Regions from separate parts of the Homo sapiens genome. Here region 2 is linked to region 1. The links are contacts of gene promoters, found by promoter capture Hi-C in blood cells and fetal thymus (Javierre and others, 2016). All regions are on one chromosome and are shown on one strand. The core of a region is centred on a gene start or on the middle of the fragment in contact, and the rest is flanking DNA. Distances in the headings are between cores, read along the strand shown.

Region 1 (6,245 bases), core at 1,653-4,152:
AAGTACCCATGTATGACACACCAAAGTTTATAACCATATGGTATGACCTAAAAGAGAGGAGAATGCTCCCAGATTAGGACTTGATAGTAACTATAAATGTTGTAACACAGTTAACAAAAAAAGGGGATGCACAGAAAAAGGAGTGTCAAGGCACTGCTTTTCCTAATACAGTTCAAAGAAGGAACTTTTTTGTTGTTGTCGTCCAGGCTGCAGAGCAGTGATGCAATCACGGCTCACTGCAGCCTCAACCTCCTGGGCTCAAGTAATCCCCCTATCTCAGTCTCCCGAGTAGCTGGGGCCACAGGTGCATACCATACCACCATGCCTGGCTAATTTTTTTTTTTTTTTTTTTTTGGTAGTTGGCTGAGTGTGATGGCTCACTCCTATAAACCCAGCACTTTGGGAGGGTTAATATCCTGTCTCTATTTATTTTTTAAATTAAATTTATTAAAAAATTTTTAAGAAGTTAAATTTTTTGTAGAGATGAGGGTCTTATCATGTTGCCCAGGCTGTTCTCAAACTCCTGGGCTCAAGCAGTCCTCCAGCCTCAGCCTCCCAAAGTGCTGGGATTACAAACGTGAGGCACCAAAGCCCAGACCCAAGGAAGGAACTTTTAACCATCTTCCTTATGTGGCAGTTATAGCCAATGGATTCTAGCATATGAGTTCAACAGCTAAGTCCATGGTCTATTTTAAGAAGGTTGTCTTAGGCCACACTTTACTCTGATATAATCAACTACCTAACACCCATGTTGTGAGTCCAAGCCCTTTTTTTGTTTTTTCTTCTGAGACAGGGTCTCAGGCTAGAGTGCAGTGGCGCAATGGTGGCTCACTGCAACCTCCACCTTCCAGGCTAAAGAAATCCTCACCTCAGTCTCCGGAGTAGCTGGGACCACAGGCACGCACCACCATGCTGGGCTAATTTTTATGTTTTTTGTAGAGCCAGGATTTCACCAAGTTGCCCAAGCTGGTCTCAAACTCCTGCGCTGAAGCAATCCACCTGCCCCGGCCTCCCAAAGTGTTGAGATTATAGGCGTGAGCCACCACACCAGGCCTGAGTCCAAGCTCTTGACAAACCCCTTTGAGAATGAGCTAAACTCATTCAAGGATTCTAGATCCTGAGAAATAACAGCACTGTTAATTCATTAACAGAATGTTAATAAATTGGCATTCTAGCTTGAAGCTCCAGACTCATGAGTCAGCTCTGACAAATGAATCCATTCTTGGTGGTCTTGGAGTCAAATCTCAGGATCACACTCTGGATTGTGGTAAATTCACCAAAAGCCCTCTCAGGAGCCCCCTGGTCATGAGCTCACTGTAACTGAGGAAAGGTAACTTTTATCTTTACAAGAATTGAAAACCCAGCAATCTGACTCAATGGAGAGAAAAATTCCAAGAAGCAATGCCATGTGGTAAGAAAGAAGAGACCTTTTTTCAAAATGTTAAAAAGTAAGTTTAGACTTTGATCATCTAACAATCTTAAAGTCACATATCTGTATGCATTCCTTACTTTCCCTTTTCTGAAAATTCTCTTTGGAACCTAGTGTTTGAAATTAAGTTCTTGGCAAGTCACAAGAAAATTGACATAACTCATTAATAAATGCAGTCTCATTTTCCTAATGAGAAGAGACTCTACCTTTAGACCTGTTTTAAATGGTTTCTCCTTGGTTCCATCTCCCGTGGCATCGCTTCCCTCTCGGTCAGAGACGTACAGCTCTGCTGTTTGACAAAATGAGGGTAAGTTATGGTCTGGCCATTAACTATTAGTCACCTTACTACTTTATTCATTCCTTATCTTTGTAAACAGAACAAGCATCGATTAATAAAAATTGAGGTCCATAAGTAATTAATATCCTAGTTATTTCCCCACTCCATTTCAATAACATCCATCTCATAAAAACATTAGTTAATAATCCAGGTTTTCAAAATGAACTCTGATCATTTTAATTTGTGATATTTATTCTATCTAATTGGGCACCCAAAAATAAAATATGGGCTTTGAAGTTGATCAGACATACGCTGGAATGTTGGATTTTGTACCTTAAAAGGCAGGGTGACTCTGGAGAATTTACTTAACCTTTCTGAGCTTATTTCTTTACCTATAAAATAGGAAAAACAATCCCCATCTTGAAAGGCTGTGCTGAGGATGAAATAAAATAACACATACAAATCAGATATCCCAGTGCCAGTTTTTGTAGAGATGGCAAATAAACACCAGCTCCCTCTGGACTTTAAAGGAAACAGAAGCTCTGAGGTTAGAAAATTTCAGAAGGCCTCACAACTAGTAGGTCTGAACAGTTAACATCCATCCAGGTCTCTCTCTTTTTTTTTTTTTTTTTCCTACTGCACAGTATGGTCTCCCCGGAAACCTCAATAAAAAAATGAGGGTGGGAGAAAAACAACTAGAATCCTAAAGCCCCTTCCTGACGATCACTTTGAAGAACTGCAGGAGTAGGGGCTACCCTGTGTCTGAACCCGTCCCAGCGCCTGAGTCTCAGCGCAATCGGGAGGTTTCGCAGCGGGGCAGGGGAAGGGCCCGGAGCCACCGCCATCGCAGCCCGGGGGAACGACGGACTCGGGGAAGCCCGGCCTGGCCCTTCAAGTCCCGGGCCCAGCAAAGGCCAGCACCCTCCCTCCCTCCCTCCCTGCAATCGGTCCCCAAACATTCGCGGGGCGCCCACTCTGGTAGGCACTAAGGAAAGCGCCGAAACCCGACTGGAGCAGAGTTCCTGCCCCAGGCAGGGAACACCGCGCCATACACTGAGTCTCACCCACCTAGCACCATGCCTGCAGTGGCCCTGGTCACCTCCAAGGACACAGACTGCAACACCGACGCCGTCTTATGACTCCAACGTGCACCGGCGGTTTCCGCGATTCCGGCGTTGCATCAGAGAGCGTAGATCTGAGGGCGCCTGCGAGAATCGGCCGAGCGCCGCGGTTCCATTGGTTACGAGAGGTGGGCGAGCGGCGCCGGGGCCGCCATCTTTGGTGAGGGCAGAGGCAACTTCCGGATCCAGAGACGCCCCGCCCCACGCGTTTGTGCAGCTCGGAAGGCGCTGCCTGTCCCGGAGCTCCGCGGCCCTGGAGACCCTGGCACAGTGTCACTTTTGCACCCTTCCTTCCCCGCCTCCCCAACTTTCCTTTCTGAATCTTCCAATTCCGCCCCAGCTGGAGGCGTGCGGGTCCTCTTGCAAACCAGACCAAGGATGTCGCCCCGATCCCCAGATGGTGGAGGCTGGTTGAGTTCATGTCACCAGCAAACACCGCGCCAGCTGCGAGACGGGGTGCGCGGCGGTGGAGGGGACGCAGCGGGTTGCGTAAACTTCCTTTTTTTTTTTTTTTTTTTTGAGACGGAGTCTCGCTCTGTCACCCAGGCTGGAGTGCAGTGGCGCGATCTCGGCTCACCGCACCCTCCACCTCCCGGGTTCAAGCGATTCTTCTGCCTCAGCCTCCCGAGTAGCTGGGATTACAGGCCTGTGCCACCATGCCCAGCTAATTTTTGTATTTTTAGTAAAGACGGGGTTTCACCATCTTAGTCAAGCTGGTCTCGAACTCCTGACCTTGTGATCCGCCCACCTCGGCCTCCCAAAGTGCTGGGATTACAGGCGTGAGCCATCGCGCCCGGCCAGATGCGTTAACTTTCTAAACTCCGTGAGCCAGCGTCCCTCGGTGTTCAGGAGAGGAGCTATGGTATATGTTCATTTAAAATTGTAAGGATTACCGTTAGGAAGGCCATAATAATGTGGTGGAAAGAACGAGGGCTTCGGAATACAAACCTGGGTTCTGCCTTTTACTAACCGTGTGTCTTCAGATAAATTACCTAAACTGAATGAGCTTCATTCAGCGAGTTGGGACCGATTGCAGGGAGGGAGGGAGGGTCCTGGCCCTTGCTGGGCCCGGGACTTGAAGGGCCAGGCCGGGCTTCCCCGAGTCCGTTGTTCCCCGGGCTGCGATGGCGGTGGCTCCGGCCCCTGCCCCTGCCCCGCTGCGAAACATCCCGATTGCGCCGAGAGTCAGGCGCTGAGAGGGGTTTATCTGTGTCTTCAGATAAATTACCTAATCTGAATGAGCTTCAGTTTTTCTATTTGTGAAAGATGATATAAATTCACTGCCCGGGCATGTAAGAGGTGCTAATAAAGGGTCTGTCATCATTTTCAACTTTTTTTTACTTTTTTGGTGGGCTTTTTTTTTTTTTGGAGACTGGGTCTTCTCTGTTGCTCAGGCTGGAGTGCAGTGGTGCTATCATAGCTCACGGCAGCCTCGAACTCCTGGGCTCAAGTGAGCCTCCCACTTAAGCCTCCCAAGTAGCTGGGACTATAGGTGCACGCCACCACGCCTGGCTTATTTTATTTTTATTTTTGTGGAGATGGGGGAGGGGTCTCCCTGTGTCGCCCAGGCTGGTCTCCAACTTCTGGGATCAAGTGATCCTCCTGCCTCAGCCTCCCAAAGTGCTGGTCTTACAGGCGTGAGCTACCACGCCCAGCCCATTCTCAATTTAGTGGAATACCAGAGTTTGTCCCTGAAGCAAAAGAAAACCTTTTTTTTATGAGAGGTCCTCAAAAAAATAACTCTATATATAGGTTCAGGGCCCATCAAGAATATGAACCAAGTCCGGGCACAGTGGCTCATGATTGTTATCAATCCCAGCACCTTGGGAGGTTGAGGCGGGTGGATCACTTGAGGTCAGGAGTTGGAGACCAGTCTGGCCAACATGGTGAAACCCCGTGTCTACTCAAAATACAAAAATTAGCCGGGCGTGGTGGCACGCGCCAGTAATCCCGGTTACTCAGGAGGCTGAGGCAAGAAAATCACTTGAACCCAGGAGGCGGAGGTTGCAGTGAGCTGAGATCGTGCCACTGCACTCCAGTCTGGGTAACAGAGTGAGACTCCATCTCAAAAAAAAAAAAAAAAAAAAGTACCAAATACTATTCCTAAGGAATATTTCACCCAATTTTATGAACTTTCCCTTTTCCTCTTGGCTGAATGTTTTCTGTTGGCTCATGGATTAGTATCAATTGCTACAAAGCAAATTTTCCCAAACCTTAGCAGCTTAAAACCCCGAACATTTATTACCTTAGCAGTTTCTTTTGAGACAGTCTCAGTTCTGTCGCCCAGGCTGGAGTGCAGTGGCGCGATCTCAGCTCACTGCAACCTCCGCCTACCAGATTCAAGAGATTCTCCTGCCTCAGCCTCCCGAGGAGCTGGGATTACAGACGTGTGCCACTACGCCCAGCTAATTTTTGTATTTTGAGTAGACATGAGGTTTCACCATGTTGTCCAGGCTGGTCTTGAACTCCTGACCTCAAGTGATCTGCTTGCCTCGGCCTCCCAAAATGCTGGGATTACAGGCCTGAGCCACCATGCCAGGCCCTACCTTGCACAGTTTCTGATGGTCAGGAATAAGGTAGTGGGTTAGCTGGAGGTTCTGGCTCAGGTCTCTCATGAATCATGCTGAGGGCAGGGTCTGTAGTCATCCGAAGGCTTGGGTGGGTGGGGATCTGCCTCCAGGCTCACTCACAAGCTGTGGTCAGAAAACCTTTCCTTGCCAGGTGGGCTCCCGATAGAGCTGCTAATGACAGCCGCTGACTTCACCTAAAGCAAGTGATCAGAGAGAGAGAATATTAGTTACCTTTTATTTTATAATAAATTACCCCAAAACATCAAATGGCATTTGTTATCTCACATTTCTGTGGAATAGGTATCTGGGCACGGTTTAGCTGAGGACTCAGAGCTGAGTCCTTCCAGAGGCTGCAGTCAGCTTAAGTTGAGATTCTTAAGTCTCACCTGGAGTGGATCCCCTTCCACACACACTCAGGTGGGTGTTGGCCAGAGGTCTCCCTCAATTCTTTCCACACGGGCCTCTTGCTTGGCTAAAGCCAGCAACCAAGATGGAAGTTAGAACCTTTAGTTGCCTAATCTCACAAGGGATATATCCCAATACTTTTGCCATATTCGATTAATTAGGATCAAGTCACTTGGTCCAGCATACACTCAAAGGAAGGGTATTACACACTGGCATGGATGCCAGCAGCTGGGAATCATGGGCCATCTTAGAAAGCTCCCCACTGCAGTGACCAAAACTGAGGCTGCAGTGCCTTTTCTAACCTGACTTGTTAGGTGAAATGTCATTGTCTCTGCCATATTCTACTGGTCACACAGACCAGCCCTGGAGGTGAATGCCAGGAGGTGTTGCTCACTGGGTACCATCTTAGAGGCTGCCCACCATAGCCTGTCCAGATGAATTTC
Region 2 (6,245 bases), core at 2,695-5,194, 1.0 Mb before region 1:
GAAGCATAGGGAATATAATACAGGTTTCTATCTAGGAGAAAGGAATTAGCCACACAGGGAGTGCTCATTTCATTAGTCTCTATTTCTCATATACAAATTCATCTGAGTGGGAAGAAGGTATGGAAGTCAGGTTAAGGATGAACAAAAAGACCAAACAGTGGTAAGAGCTCAATTCTGCAGTGGGTCCCACCCAAGAGTTCAGCAATTTTTCTTAGTGCACCTGGCAGCCCACATACAAGAACAAAGAAGGTGGGTATGTATGGTCAAAAAACAAAAGTCAAAGAAACTAAAAGCTATAGAAATGAAAGGAAGAAGTGATCATCTGGGAAGGAGAGACGTAAGCCACAAAATGGGAACAAGAAACAAGAGCAGGCATAAATAGTGATAATCTCCACAAGCTTATCTTCAGCCCTCAATTACCTGTTCATCACAGTCAGATTCCAAGAAGGTTGTGTCTTTTCGTAAACAGTTGTCAAATCCATGCTCATCACTTTCATTAAGACATTCACAACCAGCTTTGTTAATAAAAGGCATTAAATCCATCTGAAAAAAAATTGCAAGATTTTAGGCAACATATTTGGATTAGGTATAAAAATGTTTAAAAAATTTAAATCTCTGATTCTCTTTAGGCAATTTTAAAGAAAACACTTTTAAAACAGTTCATAAAACTTTTACAGTAGTCCTTTCATTTGCATTTCTGACTGAGATCTACCATCAATTATTAAAGCCAAGTCTAGGCTTAGCCTACTTGATAAGGTATCAGAAATGATGTCTTTAAGATTATAAAATGTTGACTTATACTTTAAAAAATAAGTGTTTTACAGAAGAAAATATGCAAATTAAAATATCCGTAAGATCCAAAGAAAGCCTATTTCCCTCTTCTAGTGGTCAAGGACTCTTTATATCTATGAAGATGTCCAATTTAAGATGAGTAGCAAATAAGGACTTAAAGTTTTTATCATGAAAAATTTCAAACAGACAAAAATATAATAATATAGTAAATCCCATGTATCCACCACCTCCAGCTACAATAATCATCAACTGAAGGCCACTCTTGCCTCATCTTTAACCCCCAACTACATCCTAACTCTCCTCCTGATTAGTTTGAAAAAAAAAAAAGCATCTTTTCATTTCATTCATGAACATTTCAGTATGAATTTCTAAGCAATAAGAACTTAAAAAAAAACATTCTCAATATCATTATCACAATCAATAATTCCTTAACACCATCAAATCAGTGGTCAAATTTCCTCCACTGTCTCATAAATATTTCACACTTGAATTGTTACACGCAGAATAAAGATCCAAAAAAGTATACACCAATAATAGAGATAAAAAGAAAAAGGCCTGGTACGATGGCTCATGCTTCTAATCCCAGCACTTTGGGAGGCCAAGGTGGGTGGACAGCTTGAGCTTAGGAGTTCAAGAGCAGCCTGGGCAACATAGTGAGACTTTGTCTCTAAAAAACTTAAAAAAAAAAATTAGCTGGGTGCAGTGGCATGTGCCTTTAGTCCCAGCTAATTGGGAGGCTGAGCTGGGAGGATGGCTTGAGCTCAGGAAATCAAGGCTGCAGTAAGCTGAAATTGCGCCATTGTACTCCAGCCCAGGCAGCAGAGCAAGACCCTGTCTCAAAAAAAAAAAAAAAAAAAAAGTATAAACATTATATTTGGAGGCCGGGTCGGGGTGGCTCACCCCTGCAATCCCAGCATTTTAGGAGGCCGAGGCGGGTGAATCGCCTGAGGTCAGGAGTTTGAGACCAGCTTGTCCAACATGGTGAAACTCTGTCTCTACTAAAAATACAAAAATTAGCCAGGCATGGTGGCGGGCACCTATAATCCCAGCTACTCGGGAAGCTGAGGCAGGAGAACTTCTTGAACCTGGGAGGCGGAGGTTGCAGTGAGCCGAGATCACACCACTGCACTCCAGCCTGGGGACAGAGCAAGACTCTGTCTCCAAAAAAAAAAAAAAAAAAAAAAATTGTATTTGGTTAATATGTCTCTGAAATCTCTTTTAATCTAGTCATTTAGCTTATAGATTTCTCAATACTTTGGATTTTACCGTTTACTTCCCTGTGGTGTCAGCACATGCCCATCTCTGTATACTTTATTCTAACACTTCCATACCTCCCACACATCAGAGTTGTGTTAACAGCGGTTGGTCATGCTTGTCTTATTTCTGACTTTAGTAGGAATGCTTCCAATGTTCCCTTATTAAGATTTTACTGAATGCTTTAGGAATAAAGGGGTATTTAAATTTTGTCAAATGCCTTTTCTGCATATTTGGAGATCATGATTTTTCTCCTTAGGTCTATTAATGTGACAGATTAAGTAAATTTCCTAACATAAACAACTCTTACATGCTTTAAAAAAACTCAATTTTGTTATTATTATTATTATTATTTTTTTGAGACATTCTCACTCTGTCGCCCAGGCTGGAGTACAGTGGTGTTATCTTGGCTCACTGAAACCTCCACCTCCCGGGTTCAAGTGATTCTCCTGCTTCAGTCTCCTGAGTAGCTGGGATTACAGGCGTGTGCCACCATGTCTGGCTACTTTTTGTATTTTTAGTAGAGATGGGCTTTCACAATGGCCAGGCTGGTCTCCAACTCCTGGCCTCAAGTGATCTACCCACCTCAGCCTCCCAAAGTGCTGGGATTACAGGCATGAGCCACCACACCCAGCCCATGATGATATTATTGAATTTTGTTTACTAACACTTTATTTAAAAATTTTACATCAATATTCATAATTGAAACTGGTCTGCAGCTTTCTTTTTTGGTGCATACTTTGTCAAATTATCAGATCAATGTCACAGTTCAAAAATAAATTTAAAAGTTTTCTTTTTACTTAAGATCTTAAGTAGTTACAGTAACAGTAGATTACCTGATCTTTATACGGATTTGGCAACATTTACCTGTAAAGTCATAGAAGCCTTTAGGGAAGAAATCTTTACTACTATTTCTTCTATTTCTCTATGGTGCTGGTCTATTTAGGTGTTCTGCTTCTAGTAGAGTTGATTTTGGTAAAAGTGTATTTTTCTAGAAAAGTATCCATTTTATCTCCTAAACAAGGATTACTTTTCAAGTCTACCAAGTATTATAGATGAGTCACATGTTCACCTCTCTATCTCAAAGGGTTTTCATTATGTTTTTTAAAGATACAAATACATACATACATAATTCTCAAAGACTGAAGAAAACTTTGTATGTCAAGTAAATATGAAAATGGTAATAATCATTAGTATAGACCTCTAGTTACAGATAAAACAGCCTAAATGCTTTCAAAGCTGAAATGTTATAGTAAATGTATTACTCAGGGTAACGTATAGCCAATTTAAAAGATGGGGAGGGAAGAAAAAAGGGCTACAGAGCAAAGTTTTACTATAGCAGAATTATTCGGAGCATTATGAACATTTGCCTTAAAAGGGCAGTTTTGACAAAATCTTTAAAATGTTTTTGTCTTCCATCCTATCTATATGTCACTTCAATATGGTATCTAGGATTAAGACAACATTACAGTCAGACTTGCAATACCTAAATGATAAAAATAAACTAAGTGGGTAAATTCTTCTAAATAGTTTTTGTTTTTATTTATTGTGGGGCACACAAAACATATATATGTATTTTTTTTTTTTTTTTTTGAAACAAAGTCTCCCTCTGTTGCCCAGGCTGGAGTTGCAGTGGCGCAATCTTGGCTCAATGCAACCTCCGCCTCCTGCAATTCTGCTTCAGCCTCCCGAGTTGCTGGGACTACAGCAGTGTGCCACTGCACCTGGCTAATTTTTGTATTTTTGGTAGAGATGGGGTTTCTGATGTTGGCCAGGCTGGTCTTGAACTCCTGACCTCAGGTGATCCACCCGCCTCAGCCTCCCAAAGTGCTGGGATTACAGGCGTGAGCCACCACACGCCCAGCCCACAAAACATATTTAAAGGGGTGCATTAAAGTATTTTGTTATAAAAACTGTCTGGGACAAACTGGCATTATTACATTGCATAGTTGACATAACTGGAAACTGACATATTCTGAAAACCTGCAATGAGAAATAAATGTTGCTACCTTTATAATCAACATGCCAATCATGGGAAAATAATCAGGTTAATCCAGAATACGCAACAGTCTATAAAACAGATATCCTAGCTAGGTGCAGTGGCTCACACGTGTAATCCTAGCACTTTGGGAGGCTGAGACAGGTGGATCACCTGAGGTCAGGAGTTTGAGACCAGCCTGGCCAACATGGTGAAACCCCCTCTCTACTAAAAATACAAAAAGTAGCTGGGTGTGGTGGTGGGCACCTATAATCCCAGCTACTTGGGAGCCCGAGGCAGAACTGCTTCAAACGAGCGGCAGGGGCAGGGGCCAGGGGGACGGTGGAGGTTGCAGATCATGCCACTTCACGCCAGCCTAGACAAAAGTGTGAAACTCCATCTCAAAAAAAAAAAAAAAAAAAATTAATTAAATAAAACAGCCTAGACCCATGCTATTCAATATGATACTCATTAGCCACATGTGGCAATTTAAAATTAAATTAATTAAAATTAGATAAAATTAAATATTAAGTTCCTCAGTTGCACTAGTCATATAACAAAATGTTCAATAGACAAGTGTGCCTAGTGGCTACCATATTACTAGACCAGTGCTGGTTTAGACTTTCAAAATGGAAAACCATGACAGAAAAAAAAGGCAGAGAAAAGTTTCTAGACTAAAGAACATTAATTAGGACAACTTAAATGCAATGCATGATCCTTGATTTGATCCTAAATGGTGGGAAACAGCCATAAAGAATATTTTGGGGATAATTAAGAAAATTTAACTGTAGGATAATTAGAAATATTGTATCAATATTAAATTTCTTGGGAGTTATAATGGTATCATCGTTATATAAGATTACCAAATTTAAATACTGAATAACCCTGTGAGACCTAAATAGTTCAAAACTTTAATGTCTTGATTGACACCTGACAGAAAAAAAGGGACATTTAAAAATAACAGCTTTTCATATTTTATCCATAACATTTGCACAAAAACTAAATTTTTATTTCTTAAAACTTCATTTTTTCCTATTTCCTATCTGAGGCCAAAACACTCATACCACAGCGGATGTGTAAAGAAGTATGCCTGTAGCTAGGCAACAAGACTGCTGTGTTCCTAAGACTTTTTAATGCAAACACCCTTAGTAATAAAGGGAAAAAAATACAAAGATATAAACACAATGGTTTACAAGTTAAATGATTTCCAAAACTGTCCAAAAGATGTAACAACCCTGACATAAACGATATGTTGATACTTCCTAATTGGACATTACAATTTCAAATTACAGGTCTATTTTAAATAAATAGTAATTGTACTTCCTTAAATTAATGCTGGTATCACATTACTGATGCTTTCTGACACCCTTACAATCTCCTACTACACACCCATATAGAAAGAATCTCTCATTTTTTTTTTTGGACTATAGCATCTCTTCATTCGGCATGAATTTAGACTTACAGGGAGGACTTGTAGCTCCATGACACAGATCTGCTTTAATATGCCTGTTATACATTGTTTAAGATATTAGCTTTGGCTAGGTGCAGTGGCTCACGCCTGTAATCCCAACACTTTGGGGGAGGCCAAGGCAGGTGGATCACCTGAGGTCAGGAGTTCGAGACCAGCCTGGCCAACATGGTGAAACCTCGTCTCTACGAAAAATACAAAAATTAGCTGGGCATGGTGGCAGGTGCCTGTAATCCCAGCTACTGGGGAGGCTGAGGCAGGAGAATAGCTTGAACCCTGGAGGTGGAGGTTGCAGTGAGCTGAGATCGTGCCACTGCACTCCAGCCTGGGTGACAGAGGGACTCCGCCTCAAAAAAAAAAAAAAAAAAGATATTAACTTTAACTTGAGGTAACTTTTTTTAAAATTCATTCTTTGATCTGCCAGTGCAGTAACTTTGTAACCAGAGAAATTAAAAACTATATATATCTCTTAGTATACAAGATTTACCTATTTGTATAAGCAAATCTAATACCATGAAGTGCTACTTCCAAATTTTGCTTCCTTCTTGAATAGCTCTCAAATTAAAAATGCTGCATTCTAACTATTTATACTCTGCAGTTTCCACACACTATCCTTTAGATTCTTAAGTCTTTATGTTGTTATTTGAAATAACTTACTCTTAAAACCTAGAATACATGTGATAACAAAGTCAAATTTGATTCTAAAACAAAATCAGTAATTAGACTTTTTTTTTTTTTTAAATACAGTGCCAG

The links. The method cuts DNA at HindIII sites, captures the fragments that hold promoters and counts their contacts. A CHiCAGO score of 5 or more calls a contact.
Region 2: a contact is called between a fragment that was not itself captured here and the fragment with the promoter of NARS1 in region 1, in 5 of 17 cell types (naive CD4 T cells, non-activated CD4 T cells, total CD4 T cells and 2 more). The highest score is 8.4, in naive CD4 T cells.

The regions. Positions count from the first base shown.
Region 1 is chr18:57,618,934-57,625,178 of GRCh38, forward strand. It overlaps NARS1 (asparaginyl-tRNA synthetase 1), which reads right to left and starts at 2,903. Exons shown (of 14, transcript NM_004539.4): 1 at 2,775-2,903; 2 at 1,636-1,718. The coding sequence starts at 2,784. RefSeq lists enhancers at 2,752-3,456, 2,837-3,176. The HindIII fragment of the contact is 17,897 bases long and covers 1-6,245 here.
Region 2 is chr18:56,617,584-56,623,828 of GRCh38, forward strand. TXNL1 (thioredoxin like 1) reads right to left here. Exons shown (of 8, transcript NM_004786.3): 4 at 421-543. Among named protein-coding and RNA genes, the nearest start is that of TXNL1, 18 kb to the right of the region's middle. The HindIII fragment of the contact is 7,096 bases long and covers 397-6,245 here.